2 separate regions of the Homo sapiens genome follow, and region 1 is linked to region 2. The links are contacts of gene promoters, found by promoter capture Hi-C in blood cells and fetal thymus (Javierre and others, 2016). All regions are on one chromosome and are shown on one strand. Each heading gives the region's core, a stretch centred on a gene start or on the middle of the fragment in contact. The rest is flanking DNA. Distances are from core to core; before and after follow the strand shown. Region 1 has its middle 140 kb from the start of LINC01907. Region 2 holds the start of SLC16A14 (solute carrier family 16 member 14).

Region 1 (6,811 bases), core at 1,497-3,996, 490 kb after region 2:
ACAAGCCTCAATTTTGCTTGAGCTGTTACATAGTTTTTGGTCCATTTAACAGCTATTATCCTATAACATTGAATATAGAAGTCATAATGAAAACTGGCACTGGTGATGAGAATGCTGTGGCCCATGCTTGTAATTCCAGCTGAGCCAGGAGGATTGCTTGAGTCCAGGAGTTCGAGGCTGCAGTGAGCTAGGATGGCGCCACTGTACTCCAACCTGGGTGACAGAGCAAAACCCTGTCTCTAAATAAATAAATAAATAAATAAATAGAAAGAAACTAGTACTGGAAGTGAGGTGTTGCCATAATAAAAATGGCTTAGTGATCAGGAATTTTATATCAGAGCATGGAAAATGGTTTCCTTTATTAGGCAATGGCAAAACATGACAGATTTCTTGCAAGATATATCACAAAAGGTAAACATTTTTTTAATGCCTCTAAGTCCTGTAGCTCTAGGAAAAGGAATTGGAAAACACTAACAATAGAGTCTGTTGGTTACCACTCACTGGGTTTGAAGGCTTATTACAGTTAAGAGATCAGCTCCAGCAATAATTGATTCATTTGAGAACAAAAGTGAATGGGACTCAAGAGAGTACAGAAAAGTGGGTTCTCGTAGGGTTGGAGAAGCCAAAAGAACTCCGAAGAGTAAGAGATGAGACTGAAAGAGGCTTTGAGCAACAAAAAGCTAGTTAGGGTTTCTCGATTAAACAGAGGAATTGAGCACTGAGGTAAATTTCAAAGTAAGCAAAGCCTTGACACCTAACCACCTGGCATCAGATAGCCTCAAGGGAGTACCATTCAACTAAGAGAGAAATTTGGTTTGGGAGGGAAAAGTTAAGAAATAAATCAGGCTTATGGATTAAGTTTAGAACAGAACTCTAGATGTTGTTATAAATATGTGGAATTCATGGACAATAAATCAATGAAAAGCCAACCAAGCTTTAATAAAATCACTGAAAGAACCATAAACCTGAACATAAAGTACTTTTCAAGTACTGTTCAAGCCTTAATAAAACCCTTAGTCATCCAAACTTAAACATGCAGAAAAAAGCTGTGAATACATACAGTGCTATAGAAGGGTGTGTCCCCCAGTGGATACTTCAGAGGTGGCCAAGAAGGAAATTGAAAGAGAAAATGAAAAAAAAAAAAAAATAGAGGGCACGGTCAGGAGAATTATTTCAAAAGAGCAGAATCAAAGTCAAGAAATTTCCAAATTCCTCCACTGCTAGAGGAGAGGGACCCCTTTAATCACAGCCTGGTAGATTTAGATAATAGACCATTGGCCACTGTTTGTCTCCCATTTTTCCACTTCCTAGATAGTAGTTGTATTGGGATTACTCTGTCACTCATCAAACATTGTATATTGGAAGTACAGTAAGGGAAGACAAACTTATTAAAAGGTCACCAAAACATCAAGAACATCATCCAGACCTGATAGGGAGAACTGTACTTCACACAAAGTAAGTGGATATTGGCCTGTGTGCAGTAATTATATGGGAGTTTGTGTTATCTCCTGTAAGGGAGGGGCAGGAAGAAAGAGGGTAAGGGGTTCTATATGTGGGAAGATCGGAAGAAGGGTGATACTTGAGGACAAGATAGAAAGTGTATAGGAGAGACAGCTAGCTGCTTACCCAAACTGTATTTTCCTCTTCTTCCAGGGCACACAGTTAAACTATATTTTCCAGGAATTCCTGCAGGTATGAGTGGCCTATGACCGAGTTCTAGATAGAGGAACATCTGAGGAAGACATGTGCCTAGTTCCAAGGCTGACCCATAAAAGCTTCTTACACGTACTGCCCCACAATCTTTCCTCTGCCATGAACTGGATGGCAGTCTCCAAGTAAGGACACCCTTGGAAGCCATGAGTGTCAAAACCTCCATCAGTCTGAGACCATGCATAATTACATGGAAGAGAGCCCCCAACAACCCAACAACCCTCCCATCTCACCAACTTGTAACTCATTAGACTGTTTTAAAAGAAATAAACTTAAATTTTGTTTGAGGATGTTATATATATTGGGGTCTATTTGTTAGAGCAGATAGCCTAATTTAACTACTACAAAGCAAGCTAACTACTACTATTACATGAATCTTCCAAAATCAAAAGGAATTATTTTCTATTTGTAACATATGCAGCAAACAATTAGAATAATTCTTTTGTAAAGAAAAATATGTTTATATGAATATTAAGAGTTTTATTGGCTTTTCTGTTTTCCAAGTGGCTTTTCCCAAAGTATATTTACTTCTAATATCTATAAGATTTATAAAATGGCAGGAGAAATCTAAAATAGGAATGTGTAAAGTCCTTATGTTGTCTAGAAAATGGTAAGAGTATTAATGTTTACTAGGCATTGATAAACCAAAAATGACTATAATAATGTAATTTTAATGTAATCCAATAAAGAAGTAAGAAGAAGAAAAGGAACATAAAACAGGTAAGACAAATAGAAAACAAGCAGGAAGATGGTAGATTTAAACCTAAATATATCAGTAGTTACATGGAAAGTAAATGAAACAATTTCTCCAATTAAAAGCCAAACATAGCCCAGGCACAGTGGCTCATGCCTGTAATCCCAGCACTTTGGGAGGCTGAGGCAGGTGGATCATGAGGTCAGGAGTTCGAGACCAGCCCGGCCAATATGGTGAGACCCCCATCTCTACTAAAAATACAAAAAAATTAGGTAGGCATGGTGGCGTGTGCCTGTAGTCCCAACTACTCGGGAGGTCAAGGCATGAGAATTGCTTGAACCCAGGAGGTGGAGGTTGCAGTGAGCCGAGATCATGCCACTGCACTCCAGCCTGGGTGACAGAGCAAGACTCCGTCTCAAAAACAGACAAAAAAAAGGCAAACATTGTCATACTGGATTAAAGAAAACCTATAGGCTGCTTGCAAGAGACATGATTGAATATACGAAGATATATAAGTTAAAAATAAAAAGATGGAATAAGATATGCAAACACTAAGTCGTCTCAAAAAAATATAAAGCCGGTGAATGGTATCAGAACATATCACCCCATAATATGCCACTTTGCCATGTTGATTATTTTGAGCTGAAGGCAATTGAGAAACAGCAGATGCAGAAAGGGGTCTCTTTCTTACACCTTTATGCCTAAGAAAAGTGCCATCCCTGTACCAGGAATAGAACATTCTTATCACCAGAGTCAAGGAGTTGAAGCCATGATGAATCTGTACAAACAAACCTCACTAAAATAACCCTTATCTCCCATTAGTTTTCTCCATATATTTCTTAGTCACTTTCCCATAATTTACCACTCTTAGCCCAAATCCTTTTTTCCTTTGTATTGTTACATCTCCACAAGTTATTGCTCTGTGTTAAAATAGTATATAAGCCTCCAGTCAATTCATTTATTTGGGGTTTTTATTTCTTGCTATGATGTTTCCTTTGCCATGTAAAAATACTAATATTAAATAAAATTTCTGTGCTTTTTCTCCTGTTAATCTGTCTTTTGTCAGTTTAATTTATAGGTCCCAGGCATTAAACCTAAGAGAGTAAAGAAAAAAAAATTTTTTCTACACTGGTGTAGACTTTTAAGCAAAAAACACCATTAGGGATAAAGAGGGACGTTACACAATGATAAGAAATTCAACACACACAAAAGATAATTCTACATTTATTGGTACCTAACAGAAAAGCCACAAAATATATAAAGCAAAGATTGACAAGATTAAAAGGAGAAATAGACAAATCCACTACCAAAGTAGAAGCTTGTAACTCACCTCAGTCGCTGATGGCACAAGCAAAAAATCAGTAAGGATGTAGAAAATCTGAACCATGTGATTAACAAACTTGACTTAATTGACATAGATAAAACAACATACCCAACAACTTCAAATGTGCATTCTTTTTAAGTACACATGGAACACATAAAAATGATAAATGTTGGGACATATAGTAAATCTCAAATTTCAAAAAACTAAAATTGTGCCAAGTACATCCTCTGACAATAAGAAACAAAACTAAAAATCAATAACAAGAAGAAAATTCCCCATGTAAATGGAAATTAAGAAATAAACCAATAAACACCTCATAGATCAAAGAAAAAATTATAATTGAATTCAGAAAACAATTCCTGAATGATAATAAAAATATGACATATCAAAACTTATGAGATTCACCAAAAGCAAAACTTAAGAAGGAAAAAATTATAGCCTTAAATGCATTTCTTAGAAAAGAAGATCCATCCCTGCAAGGTCTGAGAAAAAAAAAAAAGAAAAGCTAAAAATCAATGATCTAAGCATCCAAAGGTAGAGATATGAAAAAAGTTAAGAAAGAAACTGATATAGAAAACAAGCATTCAAGAAAGGGGATCAGCAGTTAAAGTCTAAAGTTATCTCTTTGAAACAGCTATAAAATTAACAAGCTCCTAATAAGACTAGACTTTTTTTAAGACAAGGGTCACAAGAACAAATATTAGGGGGAAAAAGAATATGTCAATACATATTCTAAAGACATTAAAATATCTCAGGATACTATGATCAGCTTTATGCCAAACAATTGGAAAGTTTAAATTAAAAACACAATTTACAATATAGGCAAATGCAAAAAATATAAATTTTTTCTACTTTTTCTGTAATTGTTCTGTAACTATTAAAAAATTGAATGTATAATTTAAAACCTCTCTTCAATAAAATTTTCAGGCCAGATGGCTTAAGTGATGTATTTACCAAGCATTTAAGGAAGATAATACACCAAATTTTATCAACCACTTCCATAGAATAGAAACAGAAGAAATAACTACTGATTATTTTGTGAGACCAGTATAACCATAATTCCAAACTCTGAGGGGGCAAAACAAGAACCTAATGATTTCAAACAAGAATCTCTTTCATGAATACAGTTGTAAAACTCCCCAACATAAAAAATAAAGCCAGTTATATTAAAAAGTATAATTCTTATGACCAAGCTAGGTTTATTTCAGAAATGCAAGATTGGTTGAACATTCAAAAATCAATCAGTGGGCCAGGTGCAGTGGCTTACGTCTGTAATCCCAGCACTTTGGGAGGCTAAGGCAGGCCAATCACTTGAGGTCAGAAGTTCCAGACCAGCCTGGCCAACATGGTGAAACTCCATCTCTACTAAAAATACAAAAATTAGCCAGGTATGGTGGCATGCACCTGTAGTCCCAGCTACTCAGGAGGTTGAGGTAGGAGGATCACCTGAGCCCAGGAGGTGGAGGTTGCAATCAGCCGAGATCATGCCACTGCACTCCAGCCTGAGCAACAGAGCAAGACCTTGTCTCAAAAATAAATAAATAAATGTAATAAAATGCATTAACAGATTACAGGAAAAAAGCAATTTGATCATGTTCATAGGTCCAGAAAAACATTCAATAAAAATCAAGATGGGCACGGTGACTCACACCTATACTCCCAGCATTTTGGGAGGCAGAGGCAGGTGGATCACTTGAGTCTAGGAGTTTGAGACCAGCCTGGGCAACATGATGAAACCCCATCTCTACAAAAAATACAAAGAAAAAATTAGCTGAGTTTGGTGGTGCACACCTGTGGTTCCTGCAACTCAGGAGGCTGAGGCGGGAGGATCACCTGAGCCTGGGAGGCAGAGGTTGCAGTGAGCCATGATGGTGTCACTGCACTCCAGCCTGGGTGACAGAGTGAGACTCTGTCTGGAAAAAAAAAAAATCAATATCCATTCATGATTAAGAAAAACTTAGCAAACTAGGAATTGAAGGACACTTCCCTAATTTAGTAGAGGGCATCCATAAAATACTTACAGCATAGCCAGGCACGGTAGCTCATGCCTGTAATCCCAGCACTTTGGGAAGCAGAGGCAGGCAGATCACGAGATCAGGAGTTTGAGACCAGCCTAACATGGTGAAACCCCTTCTCTACTAAAAATAGAAAAATTAGCCGGGCGTGGTGGCACCTGTAATCCTAGCCACTCAGGAGGCTGAGGCAGGAGAATCACTTGAACTCAGGAGATGGAGCTTGCAGTGAACTGAGACCACACCACTGCACTCCAGCCTGGGTGACAGAGCGAGACTCCATCCCCCTCCAAAAAATATATATATATATACCTACAGCATACTTCACACTCAATGATGGAAAGTTGAAAGCTTTCTGATGATTGCTTGAGACCAAGACAAAGTGCTCAAGCAAGTTGAGACCAAGACCAAGTGCTCCTATTACCCCTTTTATTCAGCATCGTACTGGAGGTCTTTGCTGGTGCAGAAACTCAAAGAAAAGAAATATATGTTAAAGAATCGAAAACAAAGATATGAAACTTATTTTTCACAGATGGTGAAATTGAATACACTGAAAATCCAAAAGAACCTATCAGTAAATCACTAAAATTAATAAGTAGTTTGGCAGGTTTTCTAGATCTGTGTCAAGTTACAAAAATGAAATGCATTTTACAAACCAAAAACAGTTACTACACGAAGTGTTGAAATATACATTTACCATACTACTGAAAAGAATATAGGAAAACAAATCTAATAAATGATATGTAAAAATCTATACAGAAAATTCTAGAACATTGTTAAGAAACATTAAAGAATACCTGAGTAAATGGAAGGATATATTATGTTCAGGGATTGGAAGATGAATATTGTCCATTCTCCTCAAAATGATCTACAGAAACAACCCATGTTGTTTCCATTTTAAACATCAACAGCATTTTTGTGGAAATTGACCAGTTGATTCTAACATGTAATATTGGAACACAAAGAACTGGAAATAACCCAGACAATTTGAAAAAGGTGAACACAACTAAAGGACTTCACTACAAGATATCAAGATTTAAATAAAGCTACTCTAATTAAATGGTATTGTCT
Region 2 (7,283 bases), core at 1,535-4,034:
GCTAAAAATACAAAAATTAGCCAGTGTGGTGGTGCGCACCTATACTCACAGCTATGCAGGAGGCTGAGGCAGCAGAATTGCTTGAACCTGGGAGATGGAGGTTGCAGTGAGCTGAGATGGTGCCACTGCACTCTAGCCTGGATGATAGAACGAGACTACCTCAAGAAAAAAAAAAAGTAAAAGGTAACCCACTCTAAGCAAGCTTGCTATTGGAAGCTTGACAAAAAATATTAGGGCTTCGTTATGAAGAGGGTGAAATAAGAAAATGGGAAGATTACGGGAGCAATAGTCAGCCTTCCATTCTCCCCAAATGAGTTCATAGACGATGAAAAAGAAATTGTAAATGGGGGGTAACATATATAGGCTATGAAACTGGGTCAGCTACATATTTACGTGATAATAGGCAGAAATGAAAATAACAGATCCTTCTAGGGTGTTTCAGATATTAGAACAAAATTAAATTTTCTACAGCAGCGTAGAAAGTTTTACAAGCAAGTCATTTTTTTTTTTTTTTTGACAGAGTATGGCTTTGTCGCCCAGGCTGGAGTGCACTGGTGAGATCTCGGCTCACTGCAACTTCCGCCTCCCGAGTTCAAGCGATTCTCCTGCCTCAGCCTCCCGAGTAGCTGGGACTACAGGTGTGTGCCACTGCATCTTTAGTATCTTTAGTAGAGAAGGGGTTTCGCCATGTTAGCCAGGCTGGTCTCGAAACTCTGACCTCAGATGATCCACCCGCCTCGGCCTCCCAAAATGCTGGGATTACAGGCATGAGCCACCGCGCTGGGCCAAGTCATTCATTTTTAATTTGGCTATTGTTATTACATTGCATGTGGTGAGCTCATTACACATAAGGAAAGCGGGAAGCACGAAGCTAAAATTGAAATTACAGTCTTCCCCAAAGCTACGCAGAGCGTGGTGGTAGCGGCTCTGCATCCCACGCAGGTGAGTGCGGGCTTCACCTTTAATTCTGCTCTGCAGGCGCTTCCGCGCTCTTCACCTGGTGTGTACAGGGCATTTGGGGCCTTTAGAGGGCGCACTTGCGGCCAGCAGGCTGAAGAGGCTGCCGCGGAGAAGGCTGGGGAGCGGAGCTGAGCTGAGCTGGTGCAGACAGCATAGGAGAAAAACAGAACCGAAAAATTCACACCGAATTAGGAGGACTCAACACATACATGCTTCGCTCTGGGTCAGGGACTGTGCTTGGTGGCTTCTCCTCCAGTCCAATTGGCATGAATGTCCGCATTTTACAGAGGAAGAATCTGAGCCATCAAATGGGAGCAATGAAGCTTAGAAAGGTTAAACTAGCAGGCTGTGGAAACCAAATCGGAACCCAGGCCTGCAGGATCCCAAGCCTGTTTTACCTCCTCCCACCCCCAACACTGCCTCTCTCCCCTCTCTTCTCTCTCTCTCTCTCTCTCTCTCTCTCTCTCTCTCTCACACACACACACACAGCCGCACACGCACGCACATGCAAACAAAGAAGCCAGACAAGGCAAAGGAGAATCTCTCTAAGCCCCAATAATGGCCCTCAGTCATCCTTGTTAATGAGCCCGAATCAACTTTTCCTCAGAAAGAAAATGGCTTAATTGGAAAGCAGAGTTCAGCTCCTAAAACATCGTCATGGCCTTGGCAGCGTTTAGCCCCGAAATGGCCGTCCCCGGTCTCTCACCCCATTTCAGCCTCTCTTGAGGAGCCTCAATCGGAAGCGCTAAGGGGGCCCAGCCTCTGCGCGCCCTGGGTGCGGGATCGTGCCCGCGGGGTCCGGCCTCGCGCCCCACCCTTCGAGCGCCCGCCCCCACCCGCGCTCGGTGCTCCCGCTCCCTTGGCACCCCGAGACCACATCCCCACTTCGGGCACCCCGCATCCCTCGGCGCGTTCGGAAGCCAGCAGCCCACCGGGGAAGCTGGGCCGGCTGCAGCACCACAGCCTGTGCAGAGAGGCATCCGCACCCCGCGAAGTCCCTAGGCGCAGCCCCGGGTCCCCCGCTCTGCGCCTCATCACTGTCCAGTTCGAGTCCCAAACGGGCCTAGAGAGCAGCCGGGCAGCGAGGCTGGGCTCCGGGCAGAACGCGCTTCTCCAGCCGGACGGGGGTGCCCAGGATGACGCTCGCGGGGCCCCGGCCAGCTTGAGCAGCAAGGCGCGCGTCCCCAAGCTCCGCCTGGCGGTCTGCCCTGAACCGCCGGTTACCCTGCCCGCCCGCAGCTCCCAAGCCCCCGCGGCGGCCTTGGCACTACCACCTGCCCCGGCACAGTCTCGCCCTCCACCGCCCGGGCAGCCTTTCCCGAGCCTGCCTTGGGCTGGGGCTGCCCCTTCCCGGGGGTCCCTGGGGGTGCAGCGGCCATCTGAAACCTAGGCTCCGATGCCCCCGGCGTCGCTCCATTCCCCAGGCCCGCGGCGCGCGCGGCCTCGGATACTCACCGCCCGAGGCCCGCTGGGCTGCGGCCTCACTCGGCTCCACGCCCGGATCCTCGAACTTGCTGCTCTGCTTGGAGCCCCCTGAGCTGCTGGGTGTAGAGATTTGTTGCAATGTCGCCTATCATCCTGGAGACGCGGGTGCCTGCGGCTCAGCTCTCCGCCCGGCTCGGTGCGCTCTGTGAGGGGCTCCCGGGCTCTTCCGCCGCTCGCTGCCAGGCCAGGTGAGCGTTTGGTGGAGCTGAAAGCTCGACGCCTCAGTCCAGGTGGCTTTAAAACGGGTGCGTTTGGAGGTGCCCAAACCTAACCTGGGCTTCCTTCCAATCGGAGCAATTTCAAATCTTCATGCTCGTTCATTCCTATACCGGCTAATTCTGGTTTGGCAGGGAAAAAAAATGCAGTCACCTCACATGCACACTCTTGTGGCCGGTTGAAGTTTATAGCTTTGGCTGAGGTTCCGCTAAGGCGCTGCACATTTATCACTGGCGGAAAGGTCCTGAAATCTAATCCAGGATGCAAGTGAGACTAGCAGTAGCCTCCATTTCTCTGAGATGGGAGAGAAGGGATGAAACAGACCCTCACTGAAATATTTTTGGCCAAAGAGGACTCAAAGTCCCTTATTCTCTCTCTTTTAGAGACACGGGTTTCACTATATTGCCAGGCTGGTCTCGAACACTTGGACTCAAGGAATCCTCTGGCCTTGGCCTCCAAAGTGCTGGGATCACAAGCTGAGCCACCGTGACCGGCCAGTCCCTCATTCTTGTTTCCACCCTGGGTCCCACCTCTCCCTGCTCTTTCTGCACGTCCATTACCTACCTTCGTGGGCACCAGGCACAACTTTCATCTCAATACCTCCCTACCTCATTCCCAGCAGGGCACACAACATAGTGCTTTGCCTTGGACAGTTTTCTGTATTATTGAAGTGAATGTGTGAGTCGATGAAGCCTGTGCTGTTTTTTCCCGCCTGAAGGTTTTGCAGTAATTCTCTGCTGCTGTTGTGATAAACTGCCACAGTAATAGCAGAGGAAAACCACACAAATTCACTATTTTACAGTTCTGGAGGTCGGAAGTTTGAAATGGGTCATACTAGGCTGAGATCATGGTGTTGGCCACCTTGAAGGCTGTGTTCCTTCTCGTGGCTGTAGGGGAGAGCCACCAGCTTCTGCAGGCCGCCCACATTCCTTGGCTGGTGGCTCTTCCTCCATCTTCAAAGCCAGCACTGCTGCGTCATTTTGTCTTCTTTCCATACTCACATTGCCTTGTCTCCCCTTTTCTGCCCCCACCCCTGTCCACTTTTAAGGACCCTGGGGATTACATTGAGTCCAATGAGATAATCCAGATAATCTCTCTATTTTAAGGTCAGCTGATTAGCAACCTTAATTCCATCTGCAACCTTAATTCCCCTCTTGCCATGTAAGGTAACAAATTCACATGTTCCAGGGATTAGGATGTGGACATCTTTGGGAGACCATTATTCTGCCTACCACAGATTTCCTTCTTTCTTCTTTTCCTTTTTCTTTTCTTCCTTCTTTTTCGTTTCTTTGAAAAAAAATTCACATGTATTTCACATTGCCTTCCTCGGTCACCCAAGCTGGAGTGCAGTAGCATGATCACAGCTCATTGCAGCCTCAACCTCCTGGGCTCAGGTGATCCTCCCACCTCAGCCTCCTGAGTAGCTGGGACTACAGGCACACGCCACCATGCCTGGCTAATTTTTTTGACTTTTTATAGAGACGGAGTCTCATTATATTGCCCAGACTGGTCTTGACCTTTTGGACTCAAGTGATCTGGCTGCCTCACCCTCCCAAAGTGCTGGGATTACAGGCATGAGCCGCTGCACCCGGCCTATATTGCTATTTCTTATATCAATTCTGTCTCTCTTTTTTTTTTTTTTTTTTTTTGAGATGGAATCTCACTCTGTCACCCAGGCTAGAGTGCAGTGGCAATCTTGGCTCACTACAACATCTGCTTCCCAGGTTCAAGCAATTCTCCTGCCTCAGCATCCCAAGTAGCTGGGGTTATAGGAGCGTGCCACCATGCCCAGCTAATCTTATATCAACTCTTGATTTAAAAATTATTGAGGCTGGGCACAGTGGCTCACGCCTGTAATCCCAGCACTTTGGAAGGCCAAGGCGGGTGGATCACTTGAGGCTAGGAGTTCAAGACCAGCTTGGCCAACATGGTGAAACCCCGTCTCTACTAAAAACACAAAAATTAGCTGGGTGTGGTGGCGCCTGCCTGTAATTCCAGCTGCTTGGGAGGCTGAGGCACGATATTGCTTGAATCTGGGAGGCGAGAATCGCTTGAACCTTGAGCTGAGATCGTGCCTCTGCATTCCAGCCTAGGCAACAGAGTGAGACTCTGTCTCAAAAAAAAAAAAGAAAAAAAAATTTTGAGAAAATTGTGAGAAATTGTGGCCAAGTGAGGGCATTTTGATGAGGTGCTAGGCTTCAGTGGTTTACATATCTTACTTTTGCTGATAAGAACACGGGCAACTGGATGGTTAGTGTTCCCTTGGGCGGTGCCTCTCATATCCACTCATTTCAAGCAGGCTTTTGACAGCAAGATTAGGGTTCCTGACAAGCACTTCAATTGCCGATGATCCATTTTGTTGGAAAAGAAGTCTGTAAGATTTTTAAGTCTGTTTTTTTTTTCTCTGAAAACTTGCCCACTTATGGAGGTATGATGGATCTCATATGAACTGTGCATATTTAGTGTCCAATTTGATGAGTTTCAGCATATGGAGGTAGGATGGATCTCGTATGAACTATGCATATTTAGTGTACAATTCGATGAGTTACAGCACGTCTATGGAACTACCACCTCAATCAAATGACTCCAAAATTTTCCTTGTGCTGCTTTGTAATCCTTGTCCCACCTCCACACACCCAGGCAGTCTTTAATTGGCTCTCTGAGAAGCTTCTACTCTGGACCATGAAGGCTTTTCTGATCAATTATTTTGTCTTCATAAGTTTCACTGCTCTTACCTGTCTGTTGGTCTCTCAGTGACACAGGTGGATTGAGGACAGGCCCAAAGCAAAGAGGACTGTGACCCATAAGTTGGTATGTCTGGGTTAAATAAATAGAAATCCACTATCAGGCCAGGCGCAGTGGCTCATGCCTGTAATCCCAGCACTTTGGGAGTCCGAGGTGGGCGGATCGCCTGAGGTCGGGAGCTTGAGACCAGCCTGGCCAACACGGTGAAAACCCATTTCTACTAAAAATACAAAAATTAGCAGGGCGTAGTGGTGGGTGCCTGTAATCCCAGCTACTCAGGAGGTTGAGGCAGGAGAATTGCTTGAACCCAGGAGACGGAGGTTGAAGTGAGACAAGATAGCGCCATTGCACTCCAGCCTGGGTGACACAGCGACACTCTGTCTCAAAAAAAAAAAAAATCCATCTTCAATTAGAATGTAAAATATAAGCGCTAAACTCTTTTCATGTATCTGAAGTAGAGAAACCTGACATTCTCCCTTGATTTTTAGGCAAATTATATATTTTCTCTCAATAGCAATCTTACCTTTAATTGAATTGCATTAGCTAACAACCTTACATCTTAAGAATGTAAACTAATTCACATGCTGCCTGTAAAAGCCTCCTCTCTTAGTTCTAATCATGTACTCAATTGATTTCATAATCCCACCTTGGAGTTGGGGTGAAACTGAGAATTTGGACAATCTTTGCCTTAATTTTGGTGGTTTAATGGTGTAGAATAGGCACAGAGTGGGATAGAATTAGCTTTTGAGAAAGTTGCTAGCACAGAACATTGAAGGGGTTAGAGAAATGCCTTAAAGTGTCACCGTGACTGCCTCATTGTTGTAGCCAGCCCAGATGTAAAGATGACCCACAACCCACATGGTCACCAAGAATATCCTCTGTCTCTCAGTATGGCCCTGTTCCCCACTCCTCTGAGTTTAATGTGGGAGATCAAAGACTAGAATCCAGAACACAAGTGCCTGAAATGCAAGTGTGCTCAGAAATCACAGGGCAAGCCACACGCTGCACAGCCAGGCAAAGTTTTATGAAGGAGGAAGGAAATGCTTTCTCTTACACAGGGCCAGAAATCCAGTGCTGTGCCCAAATCCGTGCCACCTCTTGGCTTGGTGGGTCAGTCTGTGCCCCCCCAGGATTCTCCCTGTGACTGGATTTATCTTTCCGTAAGTGCAGATGCTTTTACCAAGTGGGGACCTTGGTTACATCTGGTCTTGGCAGGTATCTTCAGTCTTGGCCTGCTGCCAAACCAGCCTCCAGGGATTTTGGACTTCAGCATGGCTTATGGGGACAGAAGGAGGTTGCAGGGCTGATAGCAGCCTTCAGCAGCCTGGAGTCTCATAAGAACCACCACACTGAGATGACATTGGTCATGGCTTCTGGGTGCCTCATAAATTTCAGATTTCAGCAAGGCCTCATTTTTATGCTTTATCCATGAACCATATGTGCTAGTAGTTACTTTTCAGCTATTCATTTATTTTTTCATTCAACAAATATTTGCTGAACGTGTATGATGTGATTTTATGAAGTGCTGGGGATACAGCAATGAACAAAACCAACACAAATGCTTTTCTGCACTAAGTATATGTTCCAGTGAGCAAGAAAAACAAGTTATATATATGTAATGCATATATGTGTATGTGTATTTATTTCTCTCTCTATATATATGTATATATATACATACATATATATACAATTAGTAATAAGCACTAAGAAAAAAATTAGGCAAGGACAGGGAAATTGAAGGGTTATTGTGATGGGAAACTTTAGAAGGGAGAGAGAAAGCATCAATAAGAAGTGCTGGAATGAGCCATGAGAATGACAGGAGGAAGCTCATCCTAGCAGGAAGAGTAGCAGGTACAAAGTCCACAAGGCAGAGGGAA

What was found. Contacts are between HindIII fragments. The CHiCAGO score rates a contact against its expected background, and 5 or more counts as called.
Region 1: a fragment that was not itself captured here is called in contact with the fragment with the promoter of SLC16A14 in region 2 in 2 of 17 cell types (endothelial precursors and erythroblasts); the score reaches 5.8 in endothelial precursors.

Annotation. Positions count from the first base shown.
Region 1 is chr2:230,556,204-230,563,014 of GRCh38, forward strand. No RefSeq gene overlaps it. Among named protein-coding and RNA genes, the nearest start is that of LINC01907, 140 kb to the right of the region's middle. The HindIII fragment of the contact is 1,947 bases long and covers 1,774-3,720 here.
Region 2 is chr2:230,066,140-230,073,422 of GRCh38, forward strand. SLC16A14 (solute carrier family 16 member 14) reads right to left here and starts at 2,785. Exons shown (of 5, transcript NM_152527.5): 1 at 2,416-2,785. It overlaps LOC107985995 (a long non-coding RNA gene), which reads left to right and starts at 600. Exons shown (of 6, transcript XR_001739918.2): 1 at 600-638. RefSeq lists enhancers at 1,493-2,263, 2,659-2,778, 2,789-2,848 and silencers at 1,639-1,888, 2,159-2,428. The HindIII fragment of the contact is 4,045 bases long and covers 1,282-5,326 here.